Regions from separate parts of the Homo sapiens genome. Here region 2 is linked to region 1. Evidence: promoter capture Hi-C in human tissues and cell types (Jung and others, 2019). All regions are on one chromosome and are shown on one strand. Each heading gives the region's core, a stretch centred on a gene start or on the middle of the fragment in contact. The rest is flanking DNA. Distances are from core to core; before and after follow the strand shown. Region 1 holds the start of DOC2A (double C2 domain alpha). Region 2 has its middle 25 kb from the start of MIR3680-2.

The links. Contacts are between HindIII fragments. The study calls those that stand out against the background at their distance.
Region 2: a fragment that was not itself captured here is called in contact with the fragment with the promoter of DOC2A in region 1 in 1 of the 25 tissues and cell types used here (dorsolateral prefrontal cortex).

The regions. Positions count from the first base shown.
Region 1 is chr16:30,009,107-30,012,647 of GRCh38, forward strand. DOC2A (double C2 domain alpha) reads right to left here and starts at 1,921. Exons shown (of 11, transcript NM_003586.3): 1 at 1,797-1,921; 2 at 855-1,129; 3 at 372-451; 4 at 96-170. The coding sequence starts at 1,116. RefSeq lists a silencer at 1,828-1,887. The HindIII fragment of the contact is 30,604 bases long and covers 1,761-3,541 here.
Region 2 is chr16:29,622,621-29,626,626 of GRCh38, forward strand. It overlaps the pseudogene CA5AP1. Among named protein-coding and RNA genes, the nearest start is that of MIR3680-2, 25 kb to the left of the region's middle. The HindIII fragment of the contact is 6,603 bases long and covers 1-4,006 here.

The sequences.
Region 1 (3,541 bases), core at 671-3,170:
TGGGATGTGGGGATGAAAGGTTCTCAATACCTGTCCTCCAGCCCCACAGGCTGGAGTCATGGGCTGGGCCGGGCGGGGCGAGAGGAGGCTGTTACCTTACAGGCTCCAGGCAGCAAGTGCAGCTTGACGTAGGGGTCGGCGAGGCCATTGAAATCCATGGGCTTGAGGCCCTGGAGAGGAGGGCAGGGGAGAGGGCTAGAGGCTCCCGGCACCTCTCTCCATCCCTCTTGTAGAGCTGGACCCTGGAGGAGCCCAGAAGGAGGGGGCAAGGGCAGGACGAAGGAGCAGGCCTGGGAAGGGAAGGAGGAATGGGCCCCCTCTGGGGGCTGCACGCAAACCGGGCCCGGGCTTGGGTGGCAGGGAGTGCCCACCTTGGCCCTGAGGATGCTACAGTGCAGAGTGCAGGAGGCCCGGTCGTAGAGAAGGTCAAACTCCAGCGTGCCTAGGGCGGCTGGAGAGAGAGGAAAGGCAGCATGGGTCGGTATGGAGACAGGTGTGTGCGAGAGGCCAGCAGGTGGGCACTGGCTCTGTGTGTCTCTCTCTCTTGCCAGCCCGCGAGTGTGAGTGCAAGAGGCTGAGTGGGCCCATGCGTGTGTGCGTCTGGGTCCCTGGCTCGGCCGCAACTGGGGCTGTGTGGGTGGTGGAGTGTCTCAGCAGAAATACTGAATATTGAGCCTTGCTGAAGCTGTAATCTCCACGCTGACTGCAGCTGTGGTGGCCGTCCCTGCCACCCCCCCACTGCCCTCCTCCCCTACCTACATGCACAGCCAGCAGGGCCCATCCCCCTCTCCCCCCACCACGGCAAGCCTGGAGACCCCCACCAGCACATGGGGCCTCCAAGCCCCCAGACTCACTGGCATCATCCGAGTCATAGCTGTCCACCTCCGCACCATCCTCAGGCGTGGTGGCCCCAAGGAGGGCTGCAGGGGGGGCCAGAGCCAGGGGGACCAGATGGGCGGGGGCCTCCCCGCCGCCCCCGCCGCCCCCTTCAGGTCCTGGTCCCCGGGGGAAGTAGTCAGAGATCTGGCGGATGGGCCGGATGGGCCCGGGGCACACGTTGATGGCCATGTGCTCCTGGATGTTGATGGTCATGCGATCGCCCCTGCGGCCCCTCATGCAGCACCCCTGGCTAGGAGAGGGCGTGTGAGCCAGTGAGCCCATCATACCTAGCCATCCTGGCTGAGGGCCAGGCGACGGCCTCCTCGGTCTGTGGGGCCCTCACTGGCCTCCCTTCCTAGGTGTCGAGGGAGAGGGTGGTGTGTGCCAGCCGGTGGCAGGTGGGAGGCCTGGGCCCTGCAGACCCCAAGCTGACTCCACAGGGGCTGGGCTGCCAACCCACTCCTTGCAGAAGTCGAGGTTGCACCACCCCGTCCTCACCCACCCACTTCTAGGTTGTCCCTGTATCATCTTGCCAGCTCCTTCCTCTCCTCCGGGGCTCCCCTCTGCTCCTGAGCCTGCCTGTCCCCCAAGGGGCCCTGCAGGGCCCCGCCTCTGTTTCTCGGAGGCTCTGTCCTCCTCTGCACCAGGCGCTGGTCTAGTCAGGGTGTCACCCACCCCTCTAGGCTCCAACTGCCCACTGTCCCCTCATTCAGCCCCAGGACCTGTCTGCCTGCCTGGTTCCCCCGCTCGCTCACCACAGCCCACGGTGGAGACCCCAGCCTCAGATGCCACCTCTGGCTCCTCAGGGGAGCCAGAAATTGCAGCCGCAGGAGAGCCGAACACCCCCGTAGCGCACACAGGCTGGCACGCTTCCCCGCACCCTCACGCCCCCGGCCTGCCCAGCCCCCTGCACCTGCCTCTGCCTCCAACAGGTGCCCAGGCACTGGGGGGACGGCGGGCGCAGGCTGGGCGGCGGCGGCCGGCGAGGAGAGCGCGGAGTCGAGCTGTGCGAGCCGAGAGGGAGGGAGCGCCGAGAAAGTGCGGGGAGGAGGGGGTGAGCGAGGTGGAGGCGAGGATGCAGCCGGCGCGGCGGCGGGGGACGGGGAGGGGCGCTGGGGCTGGGGAGGGGGCGGGATCTCGGACTCCCACCCGGGGCCCGCTCGGGAGCGCACGCGAGCGCGCACACACACGTGTGCTCGCGCGCGCACACTCACGCAGGGGCACGCGGACCGGCACACACTCGTGTGCACACATCCAACCGGGCACCCCCGCGCGCACACGCCCGTGCCCACGTGTGCACGCTCACACCCTTGCACACACCCAGGCGCGCGCTGGCACACTTACCCGGAGAACTTCGCACACACACGCACTCGCAAACACGCGGGCTCCCTGCGCCACCAGGAAGCAGCCGCCAGAATCGCCGGGTGTTCCCCAACTACTCCTGGGAGACCTGGCCCCCCGCCCCCGCCCGCGCGCGCGGCCACGGCGCCTCCCTCCCTCCCGGGTCCCCAAGGCCGGACCACCGGCCTCGTTGTCATGGCGACGCCGGCTCATCTCCCCCCACCCCCGCGCGTCTTCACGCCCCTCCCCCGCAGGGAGCTGGGGCCTCCCTCCTCCCTTCCCCACGTCCGTAGGGACCCACAGGTTGACAGGAGCAGGGGGTCGCCTGCTGTCACCGGCCGGGGATCTCGGGGTCTCCCGAGCCAGGCTGGGGAGCCTCACGATCTGAGGGAGGAGGCAGAGGTCTGATGCTGCGGCTTCCCCCACGCCCCCTCCCTTTGGCCGTTCAGGCCTCTCTCCTTGTGGCCCAACCCAACTCCCAGGGGCCCATGTCCCCTTACCAGGGATGGTATCTCCTTTGGGAACCACCCTCCCCCCTGCCATCCCCAGTTCTGCCCCGCAGGTGGGAAGGGGCGTCGGGGCTTGGCTCTGAAGGTCTCAGAGCCCTGCGGTAGTTCCCCATGGGCTGCCATTTCTCACCCAAACCTTGCCACCCCCAAGCCGCCCCCCTGCCCGGCCCTGCGCCTGCCACGGAGTGTCAGTCCACCCCTGGCCTTCGGTCTTCACTCACCTGTGCCCCAAACTTACCATCCCGAAGACACGAAGGGGCTTATCACCCTCGCTGCCCACCACTGACTCACCCAACCGTTTCCTGCAGTTCCTGGGACACACCTAGACGGCTCAGGCCTAGGGATCTTGGCTCACATGCGCTCCTCTACCTGGGAACCGCGCTTCCTTAGGAAGTCACCGTGGGTCCCCTCTTCCTAGGAGCCTTCCTGGGGCATCCCGCACTGCCCCTCAGCTCCAGCGCCGTCAGGACTCGGCTCAGCACCGCTTCGCCAGTGCCTCCCCCACCAGCAGGGAGTTCCACTGGAGCGGCTGATTCATCTGGGAGTCCCTAATGTCCCAAACTGGGCCTGGCACGAAGTCGGCATCTCTAAGTGCTGTTATTTAAAACAGCAATCTGGTTGCACGACAACTGAACATACCTAACACCACCTAATCTTACCCTTAAAAATGGTGAAGATGGTACATTTCGATATGCGTATTTCACGGCAATTTTTTTTTTTTTAAATAAGAGAAATGGGGCCGAGAGTGGTGGCGGGTGCCTGTAATCCTAGCTACTCCAGGGACTGCGGCGAGAGGATCGCTTGAGTGAAGC
Region 2 (4,006 bases), core at 83-2,582, 390 kb before region 1:
ACTCCTCAAGGCTCTTATGCAGCATCTTAGTGACGCTGCCAAGCAAGAGAGACGCCTTCCATGAAGCGCCATCATGCCAGTTACGGGCACGGCTCACTTGGCTTGGGGCCACTTCAACGGGCTCCTTCTGGATGATCCAGGTGACCGACTCGGTCAGCGGCGGGGTGGTGAGCGAGCCCACATAGGTCCAGTAATCCCAGCAGGTGGGCAGCAGAGCGGAGGGGTCGAAGGGGCGCATGGCCGCCCGCGCGTCCTGAGAGACCGAGAAGCCAAGGCCGTGTCAGTCCTCAGGCGGGACTAGGAGCTTCCATCTTGTCTCAGCACGGGAGGCCTTCATGGTGCTTGGAAGGAAGTGCTTTCCCCGAGATAAGGCCATGAGGCCACTGCTGTCACACTTGGAAGCAGTGATAAGAAAATGTGACCCTTCTATACAGAGCAAGGATTCCTGCCAACTTACATTGGTGGGAATTACATTACATTACACCAGCTTATGTTGGTGCTTACATTTTTCCTTTTGAAGTCATTTCTTGGGGCGCAGTAGCTCACCCCTGTAATCTCAGCACTTTGGGAGGCCGAGGCGGGTGGATCACTTGAGGTCAGGAGTTCGAGACCAGCCTGGTCAACATGATGAAACCCTGTCTCTACTAAAAATACAAAAATTATCCAGATGTGGTGGTGGGCGCCTGTAGTCCCAGCTACTCAGGAGGCTGAGGCAAGAGAATTTCTTGAGCCCAGGAGGCAGAGGTTGCAGTGAGCTGAGATCACGCCACTGCACTCCAGCCTGGGCAACAGAGTGAGACTCTGTCTCAAATAATAATAATAATAATAATAATTAATAAATAATAAAAACGCCATTTCTTTTAGCATACCTTGGCTGCAAAAAATATTACTTTTTATTGTGATAAAATATACATAACATAAAATTTACCATCTTAACCTTTTTTTTTTTTTTTGAGATGCAGTTTTGCTCTTGTTGCCCAGGCTGGGGTGCAATGGTGCGATCTTGGCTCACTGCAACCCTTCGCCTCCCAGGCTCAAGTGATTCTCCTGCCTCAACCTCCTGAGTAGCTGGGATTACAGGCACCCGCCACCACACCTGCTGATTTTGTATTTTTAGTAGAGACGGGGTTTCTTCATGTTGGTCAGGCTGGTTTTGAACTCCCAATCTCAGGTGATTCACCTGCCTCAGCCTCCCACAGTGCTGGGATGAGAGGCATGAGCCACCATGCCCAGCCCATCTTAACAATTTTTAAGTGTAAAGTTTCATGGCGTTAAATGCAGTCACATTGTGGTGCAACCATCTCCACCATCCGTCTCCAGAACTTTTCCATCATCCCAAACTCAAATTCTGTCCTGACCCCACTAAACACTATGTCCAGCTTCCTCCCCCAGGCCTGGCACCCACCATTCTGCTTCCATCTCTCTGAATCTGAGGACTCTGGGGACCTGATGTGGGTGGGATCCTGTGGTTTTTGTCTTTTGTGTCTGGCTTATTTCACTGGGCATAATGTCCTTCAGGTTTATCCACATTGGAGCATGTGTCAGGAGTCCCTGCATTGTTGCTTTTTTTTTTTTTTTTTTTTTCTGAGACGGAGTCTCGCTGTGTCACCCAGGCTGGAGTGCAGTGGTGTGATCTCGGCTCACTGCAAGCTCCGCCTCCTGGAGTTCAAGACCAGCTTGAACTCCTGGGTTCATGCCATTCTCCTGCCTCAGCCTCCCCAGTAGCTGGGACTATAGGCACCCGCCACCACGCTCGGCCAATTTTTTGTATTTTTAGTAGAGACGGGGTTTCACCATGTTAGACAGGATGGTCTCAATCTCCTGACCTCGTGATCCGCCCACCTCGGCCTCCCAAAATGTTAGGATTACAGGCATGAGCCACCGTGCCTGGCTTGCCTGGAGACATTTCTACTGCTACCTTACCGATCAGGGTATCCAGTATCTCCGTGATTACCTTCATCTGTCCCTGGAAACTGTGCCTGCCACCCTACGCTGCAGCCGTCCAGGGACTGGCAGGCCTCGGCCTAAAGGTCTGGAGGGTGGGCGACCTGCAAGACTCACAAGAGGGGAAGCCAACAGACATACCTATAGACGGAGTGCTGTGCCCCTGGTGCCGACAAGAAAGCCAAGGCTCGGGCTGGGTCAGCAACCGAATTCCAGTTTAGAGGCAGATTTGGTCGTGGACATGGCCAGCCACCTCAGTAAAATTAGAGAGGATTATTTTGCATTGAATACACTCACAGCCAAAAAACAAAAAAAAAGAGTCAGGGTCTTACTTTGTCAACTAGGCAGGAGTGCAATGATGCCATCATAGCTCACTGCAGTCTCTAATTCCTGGGCTCAAGCGATCCCCCCGCGTCAGTCTCCCAAGTAGCTAGGACACCATACCAGGGTTTAAAATTAATTGTTTGTAGCCAAGGGGTCTTGCCATCTTGCCCAAGCTGTTCTCCAACTCCTGGGCTCCAGTGATCCTCCTGCCTTGGCCTCTCAAAATATTGGGATTACAGGCATAAGCCACTGTGCCCAGCCAGCTCTTTTGGATATATACCCAGAAGTGTGTGATTGCTGAATCATAGGGTAGTTCTATTTATAACTTTTTATTTTTTTTATTTTTTTGAGGCAGAGTCTCACTCTGTCTTCCAGGCTGGAGTGCCGTGGCATGATCTCGGCTCATGGTGGTTGGGCCTGGCCGCAACACAGCCTTCATCAGCATCCCATGCCAACCAAGCACAACTCTGCACCTGTCCCTGGCCAGCACTGTGGGACAAGAGTCCAGTCCAAAGTGACAGAGTCCCTGTCTGCAAGGAAGATGGCCTCCCTGCTCAGCCACATCACATCACCTTGACTTTGCTGGGCCCTGGCCTTCCAAGGTGGAAGCCGGCAACCTAGATGCCTTGGGCTTGTCTCCTAACATCAAGCAGTGAGGGTCAGGGTCAAGAGAGGTGGCTGAGCTACCAGAAGGAAGCCCAGGAGTGTCCACGCCGGCAGACACATGCATCAGTTCTGTGCACACGTGTTCACGTTTATAATTATCCAGTTAATTAAAAAAAAAAAACAGCATTATAGGCTGGGCGAAGTGGCTCATGCCTGTAATCGCAGCACTTTGGGAGGCCAAGGCAGGCAGATCACCTGAAGTCAGGAGTTCAAGACCAGCCTGACCAACATGGCGAACCCCCGTCTCTACTAAAAATACAAAAATTAGCCAGGCATGGTGGCAGGTGCTTGTCATCCCAGCTACTCGGGAGACTGAGACACAAGAATTGCTTTAGCACAGGAGGCAGAGGTTGCAGTGAGCCAAGATTGCACCATTGCACTCCAGTCTGGGCAACAGAAAGAGACTCGGTCTCAAACAACAACAACAGCAACAAAACCCACAGCATTATTGTGATAGAATTCACATACCATGCAACTCTCCCATCTAAAGTGTACAACCTGGTTGGGCGCGATGGATCATGCCTGTAATCCCAGCACTTTGGGAGGCCGATGTGGGAGGACTGCTTGAGGCCAGGAGTTTGAGACCAGCCTAAGCAACATAACAAGAATCTGACTCTACAAAAAATACAAAAACTAGCCAGGTGCAGTGGTACATGCCTGTGGTCCCAGGTAGTTGGGAGGCTGAGGTGGGAGGATGGCTTGAGCCCCGGAGGTTGAGGCTGCAGTGAGCTGTGATCATACCACTGCACTCTAGCCTGGGTGACAGAGTGAGATCCTTTCTTAAAATAAGTAAATAGGCCGGGCACAGTGGCTCATGCCTGTAATCCCAGCACTTTGGGAGGCCAAGGCGGGTGGATCACCTGAGGTCGGGAGTTCGAGACCAGCCTGACCAACATGGCGAAACCGCGTCTCTACTAAAAATACAAAATTAGCCAGGCGTGGTGGTGCATGCCTGTAATCCCAGCTACTCGGGAGGCTGAGGCAGGAGAATCGCTTGAACCTGGGAGGCAGAGGTTGCAGTGAGCTGAGATCATGCCATTGCACTCCAGCCTGGGCAACAAGAGTGAAACTC